2 separate regions of the Homo sapiens genome follow, and region 2 is linked to region 1. The links are contacts of gene promoters, found by promoter capture Hi-C in human tissues and cell types (Jung and others, 2019). All regions are on one chromosome and are shown on one strand. The core of a region is centred on a gene start or on the middle of the fragment in contact, and the rest is flanking DNA. Distances in the headings are between cores, read along the strand shown. Region 1 holds the start of ALKBH8 (alkB homolog 8, tRNA methyltransferase). Region 2 has its middle 10 kb from the start of SLC35F2.

Region 1 (7,748 bases), core at 2,508-5,007:
TCTTTAGGTATGACACAAATTAGAGACAAAAATAAGATGGATGTGGGCTGGGAGCAGTGACTCACACCTGTAATCTTTAGGAGGCCAAGGCAGGCAGATCACTTGAGGTCAGGAGTTCAAGACCAGCCTGGTCAACATGGTGAAACTCTGTCTCTACTAAAAGTACAAAAAATTAGCCACGTGTGGTGGTGGGCACCTGTAGTCCCAACTACTTGGGAGGCTGAGGCACGAGAATCGCTTGAACCCGGGAGGCAGAGGTTGCAGTGAGCCAAGATCATGCTACTACACTCCAGCCTGGCAACAGAGTGAAATTCCATCTCAAAAAAAAAAAAAAAGTATGTAAACTGGAAAAGTTGGGAAGGCCTCAAAACAGGAGATTTGTGCCATGTACTGAAGGATAAGAACACTATAGAATCAAATAAAAAGGAAAGTATTCAGTGAGGCAGTAAAGAGCAGAAGCTAAAACCAAAATGGACATGTTTGGCCAAGACACCAAGACACAGGCATAATTTTTTTAGACCGGTCCCACTCTCTGCGGACTTTAAAGTCTTCAAAGTCAACCAAATATACAAATTTGGGGGTTAAATAAAATCTTATTTATCTTATTTCACATGAAATCATAAACAGTCAAAATTCTAATTACTAATCTTTAGTATAGAAGACAAATGCCAAGTCTCTTAAAATGCCAGCAGTCCAGCTTCCTAGCACAGGGGGTACATACTAGGATGTAAGGCCAGTGAGGCAGGCAGGCTGGCTGGCAGCATAGCAGAGAGATGAGAGGTAAAAAAAATAATAATAATAATCCAGCTTGTTAATTAGAAATGCTGGCCTGATCTAGGCTGGGGGCAACAGAAAGAAGCGAAATAGGGGGAGAGGAGAAAGAGGAAGGGTGAGTGAAAAGTTCAGGCGGAATCAAGAGGCCTCGATGACTACCCAGATATGAGGGAGACAGGAATCAAAGATTACTTGTTAACCAGTTAGAGGCTGAGTGACTAAGAGATGAGTGCTACCACTTCAAAACTGGAAAGTCAGGAGGAGGTTCAGGAAGAGCTGCTCAGTATAGGAGGTAATGAGTCATATTTAGGATAGAATAATGTTTAAGGTATTGTGAGATACAGAGTTGCAATGTCTGGCTGGCAAGTGACAAAATAAAGTGGCTCCTAGGAAAGGAACTGAGGTTAAAAAGGTTTAGGAGTCAGTCGTCATTAAGACAGGAAGGGGATAAGTGAATGGACATGTCTAACATTGCATTAATTATAATTATTTGTTTTAGTATCTGTCCCCTTCCACTGAACTGTGAGCTTTCTGAAGGCGGGATTAAATCACACTTTTCTTAGTTACCACAGAGCCTCATTCAGTGCTATGAGGTAATATAATACAGTGTTTAGGAGTCCATGTTCCAGGTTCAAATCTCAGCTCAACCACTGATTATTAGCTGTATAATCCTAGATGAGTTGGTTATATAGCTCTGTGTTCCAGTTTCTTTATCTAGGAATAGGGATAAAAATAATAGTGCCTATCCCATAGCTTTCTTAGAATTAAATTTATTTATTATTATTTATTTATTACTGTTGATTTTCAGAAGCAGCAGATCAAAATGGCTTAACAAAACAAAGAATATCTGAGGCCCTTCAAAGGAGCTATTTTAGAGCCATTCCATTTCAAGATCTTCATCTGTGGAACAGCAACTTTGCAGTATGTCATGGAGAACAAGGGATGACTGCACTACAGAATTTTTAATATTTCACATGAGCAAACACTGCAAAGAAGGAATGAGAAAGAAACGATGCTAAATATATCTTTTTAAAATGTCTGCCACTAAGAGTCCAGCACCAGCAGGTGGAGCCTCATAACCACATTTTTGTCATCCCTTTCCTTTTTCTCTCCCTCAGTCATGCAATATTATTGCACGTGAAGAAAGACACTAAATGGCCTTTGAGGCTCAGTTTTCCACCATTCCAGTGGCTAGGCAATGTGCTGGCCCAACATATCTGAGTCATCTCAACAAGGATAGGCTGATACCAGCTGCTGAGGTCTGGAGGTGCCCCCTTCTGACAAAGCCACTTCCCTGGCCAGAGTTTCCACTAATGCACAGATACTTGGATGCTCCCTGTGACATTACTGGAGTGAAGTCACTATTAACTATGATACTAGCCATGCTGAGTCCGGTTCAGCCAGCTCCAGCCTAAGCGTACTCTCTGTGGGATAATGAAAGTTTGGAGATTATGCATGCTCTGCTACTTGCTTGTTAGTGAGTTTAAAGCCAATATATCCTACTAGATATTGCCCTACGTGGTAATAGTAGTATGTACATCATGCCCTCCTTGAATAATAGAGAGCCTATTATGAAACAAGCAGTATAGACAAATGTTCCTATACTTATATGTTTAAAAAAATGCAAAAACCATGATTACTTTTGCACAACCTAATAATTAATAGCAAAGATTAGAAAGAATCTAACTTCCTATCAAACGAGGCCCAATTTTAACGTACGGCACTGGTATACAGAGTTTACATATAAATCTTTAGGACACACAAGAAATTGGTGATATGGGTTGCCTCCAGGGAAGGAAAATGGATCGATGAGTAAAGGAATGAAAGGGAGCTTTCTTCTTTCATGACTTTTGAAGTTAGTAGCTATTTAAACTGCATCATCTATTTAAAAAGAAAATAAAGATTTAAAATTTTTAGAAAAAAATTCACCCCATCACTTGTCACGGCACCCCGTTTTAACTCTTTGAATAACACTTACTACATATTTTCTTACACTCTCATTAATTTGTTTATTCTGTCTTTCCCCATAACTGAATAAAGAACACTCACTCCATGAAGTAGAGATTTTGTCTCTATTGTTCACCCTGTAGCACCCAGCACTTAAACAGGATTTAGCACCTAGCAGCCACTCAATAACCATTTGTCGAATAAACCTAAATCGACTTTGCTGTCTTACCTCCTAAACCTCCCCTCCTCCAGAATTCTGAGTTTGGTGGCCTTCTTCAACGTTTTCATTAACACCTAGCATGGACCTCTATCTCTAGAGTTCTCACATGGTATTATAATTGCCTGTTTGTGTTGGGCTTCGGCCAGAAAACTGTCATCTATTTAAGGGCACAGACTTGGTGCCTGACATACAACTGACAATAAATATTCAATGAAATCTATCAAAATAACAGGCTGACGCTACCAGAGGTCCAGGAGTCGCAGGGATTGCTCAAATAAGAGCACAGGAAGACTCAGCTGCGCAAGGGATCAGATCATCAGCACTGCCTTTGCATCGATGCAATCAGACCGATTGTCACCGGTCAGAAAAGCCCCAGAAGCGCCACACTAACACGCCCCATGTTGCAACCGTCCTCTCCAACCCCAAAGAAAACAGAAGATTGACACAGGCACCACGTGAGCGCCCGAACCAAACACAAACACATGCACCCTAAACACTGAGAGAACCACCCAACGCAGACACCCTACTGCCCACACTGCACCAAGGGCGCCTCTGGGATCCATCCCCTTTCCCTAGGTTCTCAGCCCTAGCTGGCAAGGCGGATAGAGAAGACCGGAAGAGGCTGAAAAGAGGAAGCGGTGATTTGCTGCCCGTATGCCCGCCAGTAAGAAGTGCCACACACCTCCGCTTCGGCTCAGGCCGGATTCTCACCATGCGTGTGCCTTCTTCTTTGCCAGCCTCTCCACTCTAGCACCAGAACACCGCAGCGGATACTTGCACGCCATCTCCCCTGGGCGCGGCCATGTTGGAGAAAACTGCACTACATTTCCCATGAGCCCGCGGGACAACGAACAGCGCTCCCACAGTCCTCTTCGCCTCCCAGAGCCCGGGAGTGACCCTTTTTCGACCAAGTGTCTTTGTAAAGTGCTGTCTGTTACACTGAAAATTCAGTTGTCTTTTTGGGGGGAGTAGTAATAATTGGTAGTGCAGCTATATTTTTATCTGTTGCTCTCCAAATGGACAAGGTCAAACAGGTTTGGGCCCTTTGGTCTTTCAGCAATGTCCCCTGGCACCTTCTATTCTTCGTGCATATTTCCTCCTGAATCTTATTAGAGGTGAGAAAGGAAAATAAATCTTGGTGCCACAAAATCACTAAGCTAAAGGGAAAAGTCAAGCTAGGAACTGCTTGGGCAAACCTGCCTCCCATTCTATTCAAAGTCATCCCTCTGAGTCATCCCTCTGCTCACTGAGATAAATGCATATCTGATTGCCTCCTTTGGAAAGGCTCATCAGAAACTCAAAAGAATGCAACCATTTGTCTCTCAGCTGTAATACGTGCGACCTGGAAGCCCCCTCCTCACTTTGAGTTGGCCCGCCTCTGCTTCAATTTGTCCCTCCTTTCTGGACGGAACCAATGTTCATCTTACATATATTGATTGATGCCTCATGTCTCCCTAAAATGTATAAAACCAAGCTGTGCCCCGACCACCCTGGACACATATCATCAGGACCTCCTGAGGCTGTGTCACGGGCGGGCGTCCTTAACTTTGGCAAAATAAATTTCCTAAATTGTCTGAGACCTGTCTCAGATATTCAGGGTTCACAGAGATATGGGAGAGGATCCTGGGGTCTGAAAGATGGCATTGCATGGGCGGGAGGGAAGGAAGTGAATATGCATGAATGTGCCAGGGGAATGGTGAGTACCACAGAGTAATAGAAAGATGTGTGGAAGAATGGTGAAGGAAGCAAGACAGAATTCTGTAGGCCTGCAGAGTGGGAGTTGCAGGGAGGAAGGTTAGAGAAATGAAATGATATGACCAGAGCTTCTTGTGGCAAGTGGGAGGAGAGACTAGAAGATGACTGATGAAGTGAAAAGTAACGAAATATTAACAAGCCCAGTAGTGGCAGAGGGAAAGAAAAAAGAGCTGGTAACAGATCATAAGTAAAAGACAAAGGAGAGGGTGATGATTAGCAGTTGTTCCTGCTCTGTTATTTGTTATATAAATGTACCATAATCCTTCTACCTGCATTGGTTTATGAGCTATGTGAGTGCAGGGAGGGAAAGGTGTAGGGGAAGAGGAATCACCTTCCCATGTTGTTGATACAATGGCCCCTATCTGCAGTGCACCACAGTGGACTAACAATAAAATAGCTGGCTGACCAGGAAAAGTGGCAGTGAAAAAAGAGTGCTGTTGAGTGGCGGAATGATTTGTGTGGAGAATAGGTTACAAACATGAAAGAACAGAAGAGGCAGATAGGCAAGCATTGCAATAGTCTAGGAAAGAAAGGGTGAGACCAAAACTTAATAGTAAAAATGAGGAGGCAAGTGCAAGCTGGAGAGGTCAAATCCACCAGACATTGCAAGCTACATGAGTATAAGAGGACACACAGGAAATCTCCCCATTGCAATTCTGCTTCTGCACTACTGGATGCTTTCAAAAACACATCCCCATAGAGCTTTCTGCAATGATGGAAATATTTTATAGTTTGAGCTGTCCAACATAATAGACACTAGTTAACGTGTGGCTTATGAGCATTTCAAATGTGGCTAGTATGACTAAGGAAATGAATTTTGAATGTTTAAATTTTAGTTTCAATTAAACTTAAGTAGCCACAAGTGGCCGGTGTCTACCAAACTGGATAACAGTGTAAAATATCCTCTTATCTCTTACTGATCAAATTCAATTACTTCATCTCAGTATTTGTCCTGCTTTAAGGTGCTGAAGCTTTTAAAACTTTTTTTCTGCACCTCTCTTTTAATTCTCTTTATACGATCTGATCACTTACTTTCAGAATTTTCCACTAGTTTCTCTCACTCTGTCCGTAATTAAATATAGGCAATCCCTCAGATTTTGAGTTTGACTCTTTTCTGTTATTCTAGTCTCTTCCTGTCTGCCCTCCCCAGAGTTATAAAGAGATTTGTGAATCATTCCCTAATCTTTATCTTCAGCCCTGGCTTCTATTAAAAGAAAAACTTTAGCCAAATTAAATTTAAAGGAGTTTAATTGAGCAATGAACTTTTGATTCGTAAATCGGGCAGCCCCCAGAATCACAGCAGATTTGGAGAGACTCCAGCACAGCCATGTGGTGGAGGATTTGTAGACAAAAAAAAAAAAAGGAAATGATGTACAGAAATCAGAAGTGAGGTGCAGAAACAGCTGTTATTGGTTACAGGTTGGTGTTTGCCTTATTTGAACACTGTTCAAACAATTGGCTACATTTGATTGGCCAAAACTCAGCGATTGGCACAGGTGTGGGCTATGGTTGGTTTACTCCTCCACTTGTTCACGATGTACAGAAAAACCTTTAGGCTGAACTTAAATATGTAAGGAGGCAGCTTTAGGCTAAACTTGATTAACACTTCCCTTTAGAAACCAGAGTGGTTTCTAAAGAATATGGGGGCATTGGAGTATGACCTGAAATCAAAACTACAAAACAGCATTTATTTTGTTGAGATTTACGTGATAATTAATAAAACACCAAACAGAGATTAGCTGTTAAGTGATTATTCATTTATCTTCTTCTCCTGAGTTACAAGCCTTCATTTCCCATTATCTGCTGCCCATCCATGTCTCAATATCTCCAGAAAAAGGTGAATACATATACAATTTTGTGTGACATCCTTTGTATACAGACCCTTATCTTTTCTTGGAATATTGCATAGACCATTTCTTCTAAGGAAGATGATTCCCCAAAAGATTTTCAGGTACACTGAGACCTTGTTTTATTTATTATGTAACCACAATGTCTTCCATAGTCTTGTAATACTAGAAATTTAATAAATGTTGAGCTGAAAAGGAATTTTTATTTGAAGATATAATTCATCTTCACCTGTGCCAAACACTTTACATGGTGATCTATAATAATTTTTCAAAAGTATGAAATGCTGACCTGTTTCCTTAGTAAAACCTTAGTCTCAACTTCATGAGAGGTGAGTCCTCTATGTGACTAGTAGTGGGGTCAGCAAGATTTTACTGTAAAGGACCAGATAATAAATATTTTCAGCTTTGTGGCCAAATATTCTTTGTTTTTATTTTTTTACTTTTATTTTTTGGGATGGAGTCGCACTCTGTCGCCCAGGCTGGAGTGCAGTGGCACAATCTCAGCTCACTTCAACCTCTGCCCCCTGGATTCAAGCGATTCTTCTGCCTCAGCCTCCTGAGTAGATGGGATTACAGGCACGCGCCACCATGCCCAGCTAATTTTTTGTTTTTTGTTTTTTATTTTTTTATTTTTATTTTTATTTTTTTTTGAGACGGAGTCGCTCTGTTGCCCAGGCTGGAGTGCAGTGGTGCGATCTCGGCTCACTGCAAGCTCTGTCTCCCAGGTTCACGCCATTCTCCTTCCTCGACCTCCAGAGTAGCTGGGAGTACAGGCGCCCGCCACCACGCCCAGCTAATTTTTCGTATTTTTAATAGAGACAGGGTTTCACCATGTTGGCCAGACTGGTGTTGAACTCCTCACCTCAAGTGATCCACCCACCTTGGCCTTCCAAAGTGCTGGGATTACAGGCGTGAGCCACCGTAGCCAGCCTGTTTTTATTTTTTAACAACCCTTTAAAAATCCTTTAAAAAAAGAACCTTTCTCAGCTCCCCTGGCTTATGCTGGCAGGATTTGGCCAGTGGGCTATAGTTTTCCACCCTCTGGACCTTCCCTGAATTGAGAGCACCATCTCAAAGTACAGGTAAGATCAGCCCACCAATTAACACATTTATTATGAATTATAATAGAATATAAGTGAAATATAAGTGAATTTAATCAGATTAACCAACACTGCATTTTAAAGTATTGAAAAATAAAGTTCCAG
Region 2 (7,748 bases), core at 3,019-5,518, 300 kb after region 1:
ATTCTTTCTCAGTATCTCCTTTCATGACCTAGCCAAAAAAGTCCTGTAGTCTCATTACCACCATAGTCCCAAACCCACCCAGGCTCAAAGGAAGGGAATGTAGACCCCACCTTTCAAAGGAACAGGGTGTCACCATCACATGGGAAAAGAGCATATGGGATGGAGGATATTGTTGCAGCCATCTATGGTTTGCCACAAATGCTTTGCAAATTGCTCTCAGGCATAATTAATACTGTTTTTCAGGTGAGTAAGCTAAAATTCAGAAAAGAATAAGTAAATTGTCCAAGATCTTCAGAATAGTAACTGATTGATACTGACATTAAAAGCACCAAGCTGTCTTTCCAATTTAATTGACAAGCATGTATGAGCCTCTTTCCCAGTATCTTTTTCTCATTGCTTGTAAAAATAATTATAAATAGATATACTTTTTAGATCTCACCAAATACAACATACTGAATAAGAAAAGCTATGATAGTCACATCCACATTAAGATTACCATCCATTTAAAAAAATAATAAGACTGTAGTTCTAAGTGATGGTTTTGGATGTTTGTCCCCTCCAAATCTCATGTTGAAACGTGATTCCCAAAGTTAGAGGTGGGGCCTGGTGGGAGGTAATTGGATCAATGGGATAGATCCCTCATGAAAGCTTTAGCACCATTTCCTTAATGATAAATGAGTTCTCACTCAGTTTACACAAGATCTGGTTGTTTAAAAGAGTCTGGAACCTGCCAGGTGTGGTGGCTCACACCTGTAACCCCAGAACTTTGGGAGGCCAAGGCAGGTGTATCACCTGTGGTCAGGAATTCAAGACCAGCCTGGCCAACATGGTGAAACCCCGTCTGTACTAAAAATACAAAATACATGGTGGTGCATGCCTGTAATCCCAGTTACTCGGGAGGCTCAAGCAGGAGAATTGCTGGAACCCGAAAGGTGAAGATTGCAAGATGAGCCGAGATCACACCACTGCACTCCAGCCTGGGCAACAAGAGCAAAACTCCATCTCAAAAAAAAAACTTCCCCCACTCTTGCCATGTGACATGCTGGCTCTCCATCACCTTCCACTGTGATTGTAAGCTTATTGAGGCCTCACCAGAAGCAAATGCCAGTGCCATGCTTCCTGTAAAGCCTACAGAACTCTGAGCCACCAATTAAATCTCATTATTATTATTTGAGACAGGATCTTGCTCTGTCACCCAGGCTGCAGTGCAGTGGCACAATCATGGCTTACTACAGTCTCGACCTTCTGGGCTCAGGCAATCCTCCCACCTCAGCCTCCTGAGTAGCTGGGACTATAAGCATGCACTACCATCCCGGCTAATTTTTATATTTTTAAAATTTTTGTAGAGATAGAGTCTCACTATGTTCTCCAGGCTGGTCTCGAACTCCCGGGCTCAAGTAATCCTCTGGCCTCAGCCCCAGAAAGTGCTGGGATTATAGGTATGTGCCACTGTGCCTCACCTAAATCTCTTTTTTTAATAACTTACTCAGCCTCAGATATTTCTTTATAGCAACATAAGAGCAGCCTAATGCACTAAGTGTTTATGATTTTTTTTTCTTTTTTTGAGATGGAGTATCACTGTGTCGCCCAGGCTGGAGTGCAGGGGCATGATGTCGGCTCACTGCAACCTCTGCCTCCTGGGTTCAAGCAATTCTCCTGCCTCAGCCTCCCAAGTAGCTGGGACTACAGGCATAGGCCACCACACCCAGCTAATTTGTATATTTTTAGTAGAGATGGGGTTTCGCCACATTGACCAGGCTGGTCTCGAACTCCTGACTTCAGGTGATCCACCCACCTCAGCCTCCCAAAGTACTGCGATTACAGGCATGAGCCACCATGCCCAGCCACGATTTTATATTATATTATTTGTGAGGAATATTTGAATACTAAAAATATCACAGTAGTAAAGAAGTGGCTTTGGAAGGCCAAGGCAGAGGATCACTTGAGGCCAGGAGTTTGAGACCAGCCTGGGCAGTATAGCAAGACCCCATCTCTACAAAAAATATAAATAAATAATAAACATAAAAATTAGCTGGGCATGGTAACTTGCACCTGTGGCCCCAGCTATACAGGAGGCTGAGGTAGGAGGATTCCTTGAGCCTGGGAGGTGCAGGCTGCAGTGAGCCATGAACATGCCACTCCGCTCCAACATGGGTGACAGAATGAGACCCTGTCTCAAAAAAAAAAAAAAAAAAAAGAATTAAGACTCCTTTAATCTAGAACCAATGTCTAAGGTAGTTAAACTAAAGTCATTTCTATAAACATGCAGTGGGAACTTTCCAAATATAATCTATAATTAAAGTTCATTTTAAAACACTTACTTAAAAAGCTTTATTTTAAAAAATTCTGTTTGCAGCATCCTATTAAATACATTTCTTTCTACTATACTTGAGGCTCACAAGGACAATAGCTGCATTATTCCAGCTAAGCCTCTTTATTTTCTCTTTCACAAGTATTCGAAGAATACTGATCAGTGTCAATCTGTCTTCGATTTGAATGGCCTAGATTAGTATACAAGGTACCAAAGAAATGAAAATGTCAGAATTGGCCGGGCGTGGTGGCTCACGCCTGTTATCCCATCACTTTGGGAGGCCAAGGCGGGCAGATCACGAGGTCAGGAGATCGAGACCACAGTGAAACCCCGTCTCTACTAAACATACAAAAAATTAGCTGGGCACAGTGGTGGGTGCCTGTAGTCCCAGCTACTCGGGAGGCTGAGGCAGGAGAACGGCGTGAACCTGGGAGGCGGAGCTTGCAGTGAGCTGAGATCGCACCACTGCACTCCAGCCTGGGCGACAGAGTGAGACTCCGTCTCAAAAAAAAAAAAAAAGTCAGAATTACCTGTCATTAAGCAGAGGGAATCAATAATACTATCTGCTTAGATGGCAACTTTGTTTAGAGAATTAGCCTTATTACCATTATCTTATTATAGGACACATTACAAATCAATCAACTATATATTGGTTGAATGCAAATTATGAGCAGACCACATTTCTAGATGTGCTCTCTGATATTCAATATGTGAAAGATACTTTTACTCTTCCATCAACCTTTCCTTCCTTCTTTCCCTCCAAAAACATTTTAGAACACCTACTATGTTCAGGGCCCCATGCTAGATGGCACGAAGAATGTAGGAGTAATTAAGACTTGGTTCTTGTCTTCATATTGTTTACAATTTAATAGAGAGGAAAGTACTTTGCACAACCCTAACTGCCCTTATTTTTATTTTATTTATTTATTTATTTATTTATTTTTTTGAGACAGAGTCTCGTTCTGTCGCCCAGGCTGGAGTGCAGTGGTGCGATCTGGGTTCACTGCAGCCTCGGCCTCCCGGGTTCAAGCTTTTCTCCTGCCTCAGCCTCCGGAGTAGCTGGGATTACAGGCACCTGCCACCATGCCCAGCTAATTTTTGTATTTTTTGTAGAGACGGGGTTTCACTGTGTTGGCCAGGCTGGTCTTGAACTCCTGACCTCGTGATCCACCCGCCTTGGCCTCCCAAAGTTCTGGGATTACAGGCGTGAGCCACCGCGCCCAGCTTTCTTTTTTTTTTTTTTTTTTTTTTTTTGAGACAAGGTCTCACTCTCTCACCTAGACTGGATTGCAGTGGTGTGATCACGGCTCACTGCAGCTTCAACTTCCTCAGGCACAAGTGATCCTCCCACCTCAGCCTTCCAAATAGCTGGGACCACAGGTGCACACCACCATGCTCAGCTAATTTCTTGTATTTTTTGTAGAGATGGGGTTTCTCCATGTTGCCCAGAATGGACTTGAACTCCTGGGCTCAAGTGGTCCTCCTGCCTTGGCCTCTGAAAGTGTTGGGATTAAAAGAGCTTGAGCTAGGCCGGGTGCAGTGGCTCACACCTGTAATCCCAGCACTTTGGGAGGCCAAGAAGGGTGGATCACCTAAGGTCAGGAGTTCAAGACCAACCTGGCCAACATGGTGAAACCCTGTTGCTACTAAAAATACAAAAATTAGCGGGGTGTGGTGGCGGGTGCCTGTAATCCCAGCTACTTGGGAGGCTGAGGCAGGAGAATTGCTTGAACCCAGGGGGCAGAGGTTGCAGTGAGCTGAGATCGCACCACTGCACTCTAGCCCGGGTGACAGAGTGAGACTGACTCTGCCTCAAAAAAAAAAAAAAAGCTTGAGCCTGGGAGGCAGAGGTTGCAGTGGGCCGAGTTTACACCACTGTACTCCAGCCTGGGTGACACAGTGAGACTCCATTCCCCAAAACCCCCAAAAAGGCATGAGCCACCATGCCCAGCCTAACCTTATTATTTAATTGAGGAGTAAAGGCTCCAAGAAATGAGCTTATTCCTGATTATCCCTTGGTCCCAGCCAGCTCCCACTTCACCCCTTCTTTTCTGCTTACAGTCCTGAAAGATTTCTCTTCACTTCACCTCTTTTCCAGGTACCATTGCCTGAATCCCTTTTCCTGAGGTCATCTAACTTCTAAAATAAGTACTGAAGGGAAAATGAAAAGGAAACAAATATAGGTTGTACAAAAAATAAAAACACAAAAGAGAAAAACAAAAAATCATCTTGAGAAGTTTTAAACTGTGTCATTAACCATAGCAGTCCCTTTTTGTCTAATGCAGTGGTTTAAAATACCAACCATAGGCTAATGACTCCCTGACTTTTTTAGCTCCAGCACAGGCTTCCCCTGAGCTTCACATTTGTATATATAATTGCTGACTTGCCATATCCACTAGGAAGTCTTAAAGGCATCTCAAACACAGCCCAAACAAAACTCTCTCTGTTCCTCCATTTCTTACTTTCCTCACTTACACCCATTGCAACATAAAGCACTTCAATCTATCAGTTCTCAAACTAAGAAACTAGGGATCTGCCAGGCATGGTGGCTCATGCCTGTAATCCCAGCACTTTGGGAGGCTGAGCTGGGAGGATCACTTGAGGCCAGGAGTTTGAAACAAGCAATAAAGTAAGACCTCATTTCTATGGAAAAAAAATTAATTTTAAAAATAAAAGAATCTAGGGATCATACATGGTTTCTCCTTTTCTCTTATTTCTCTCATTCAATTCAATAGCCAGTCTTTCCTTTTTTTTTTTTTTTTTTTTTTGAGACAGAGTCTCGCTCTGTCACCCAGGCTGGAGTACAGCGGCACGATCTCGGGTCACTGCAACCTCGGCCTCCCGGGTTCAAGCAATTCTCTTGTCTCAGCCTCCCTAGTGTCTGGGACTACAGTCACACGCCGCCACGCCTGGCTAATTTTTGTATTTTTAGTAGAGACAGGGTTTCACCATATTGGTCAGGCTGATCTTGAACTCCTGACCTCAGGTGATCCACCCACCTCAGCCTCCCAAAGTGCTGGGATTACAGGCATGAGCCACCACGCCCAGCCCAGTTTTTATATTCATTTTCAAAATATATCTGAAATCCATTCCCTTTTCTCTGTCTTCACCACCATAGGCCAAACCACCAAAATCTGTGGCCTATATGCTGCAACAGACTGGTATATCTTCCTACTTATTCTATTCTTGCCTCCTACAGTCCATTACCCAAAATCCCTACGAAATAAGGTCACTCTCCCCTGCTTATAAGCCTACAATGCCTGCCTGTTGTATTTAGCATGAAATTTAGGCTCCTTGCTCTAGCTTAAATGCGCTGCCTAACTCTTCAACCTGCATACTGTGTTCTTTCTCTTTCCCTTTATTTCTATTGTCTCATTTCCTCTGCCCGGAATAATCTGCCTTCAGATCTAAGCATAGTCTTAGGTCCAGTGTTGCCTCCTTAGAGAAGATGTCCTTGACTTAATCCACTGGTTCCCAGTCTCTCCCTATCAAATTGATAGGTTACATTTTCATCATAGGTATTGTTGGGGGCTGAATTGTGCACCGCCCCCTGCCCAGAAATGTATATATTGAAGTCACCCAGGGCTGAGGGGGTGGACCACCACGCTGGTGGGCCGAGGACAGAGCATCAAGCCAAAGATTATTCTGGAGCCTTAGTCTTTTTTTGTTCGTTTGTTTGTTTTTTGGAGACAGAGTCTCGCTCTGTCACACAGGCTGGAGTGCAGTGGCATGATCTTGGCTTACTGCAACCTCCGCCTCCTGGGTTCAAGCAATTCTCCCTCCTCAGCCTCCTGAGTAGCTGGGACTACCGGCATAATAAGCTACCAGGTCTGGTTAATGTTTGCTTTTTTAATAAAGAAAGGGTTTCGCCATATTGGCCAGGCTGGTCTCGAACTCCTGAGCTCAGGTGATCCACCCGCCTCGGCCACCAAAGTGCTGGGATTATAGGCATGAGCCACCGCATCCGGCTGGGATTTATTTTTTATTTCTGACTTTTGGAATGGGAAAGACTATGCTATGCCTATGCCATCATTGTATTTTGGAAGCAGATAACTTGTCTGGTTTTATAGATTCACAGCTGGGGAGGAATTTTGCCTCAGGACAAATCATAACTCCTATGAGTCTCACTCATACCTGATTTAGATTATATTTTGTGCTTACACTTGATGCTGAAATGAGTTAAGATTTCTGGCACAGTTAGAACAGGGTGAGCGTATGAATTTGGAGGAGAGGTGGACGGAGGGCTATAATGAGGTCTACCAAAATTCATATGTTGAAGTCCTAACCTCCAGTGCCTCAGAATGTGATTGCAGCGACGAAGTCTTTAGAGGTATTAAGTTATAATGAAGACATTAGGGTAGGCCCTAATCCAATATAACTAGTATCCTTATAACAAGAGGAAATTAAGACACAGACAGTTACAGAGGAAAGACCATGTGAAAACACAGAGAGATGGCCCTGTACAAGCGACGAGAGATGCTTCAAAAGAAACCAGTTCTGGCTTGGCGCGGTGGCTCACGACTGTAATCCCAGCACTTTGGAAGGCCAAGGCCGGCGGATCACGTGAGGTCAGGAATTCAAGACCACCCTGACCAACATGGAGAAACTCCATCTCTACTAAAAATACAAAATTAGCCGGGCATGGTGGCACATGCCTGTAGTTCCAGCTACACGGGAGGCCAAGACAGGAGAATCGCTTGAATCTGGGAGGCGGAGGTTGCAGTGAGCAGAGACCGCCCCATTGCACTCCAGCCTGGGCCACGAGAGCGAAACTCTGTCTCAACAAAAAAGCCAATTCTGCCACCATGTTGATTTCAGACTTCTAACCTCCAAGACTGTGAGAAAATAAATGTGTTTAAGCCACTCAGTCTGTTATATCTTGTTATGGCAACCCTAACAAACTCATACAGAAATTATCTAAAATTATCTTGTTCTTAGATTACTTATATTGTGTTCTCCCACCCACAGAGAATTTCCTGCCCATCTATGGAGAACAGCCCCATAAGTATCTTGAGAATCATGTTAGCACTCAAAAGAAGCTAAATCATAAAGTGACCTCCCAAAAACATATATTTATCTTTTCATACACATCTTCCATGAATTTTAATGTATTAATCTCAGTGCCTCTCTCACTGCCTTTTCCTTTCTTCACTCTTCTGCACCCACTTAACAACCACTATCCCTCTAGCCAGACCAAGTTACTTACAGCTCGTGAACTACAACATGCCATTTTGCACAGCTATACCTTTCCATTAGATTAAGGAGAAGTCTTATCCTTCAACAGTAAGCAAAGGGATTCCTTCCTCTGGGAACTCTTTTTTAATCCTCTCTATATTTTATTTATTTACTTATTTATTTATTTATTTTTGAGATAGAGTCTCACCTAGGCTGGAGTGCAGTGGCATGAACATGGCTCACTTCAGCCTCAAACTCCCAG

Evidence for each region. Contacts are between HindIII fragments. The study calls those that stand out against the background at their distance.
Region 2: a fragment that was not itself captured here is called in contact with the fragment with the promoter of ALKBH8 in region 1 in 1 of the 25 tissues and cell types used here (aorta).

What each region holds. Positions count from the first base shown.
Region 1 is chr11:107,561,978-107,569,725 of GRCh38, forward strand. ALKBH8 (alkB homolog 8, tRNA methyltransferase) reads right to left here and starts at 3,758. Exons shown (of 12, transcript NM_138775.3): 1 at 3,624-3,758. RefSeq lists enhancers at 3,109-3,627, 3,431-3,920, 3,628-4,144, 3,991-4,050, 5,979-6,058. The HindIII fragment of the contact is 10,640 bases long and covers 1-7,748 here.
Region 2 is chr11:107,865,294-107,873,041 of GRCh38, forward strand. No RefSeq gene overlaps it. Among named protein-coding and RNA genes, the nearest start is that of SLC35F2, 10 kb to the left of the region's middle. The HindIII fragment of the contact is 6,812 bases long and covers 863-7,674 here.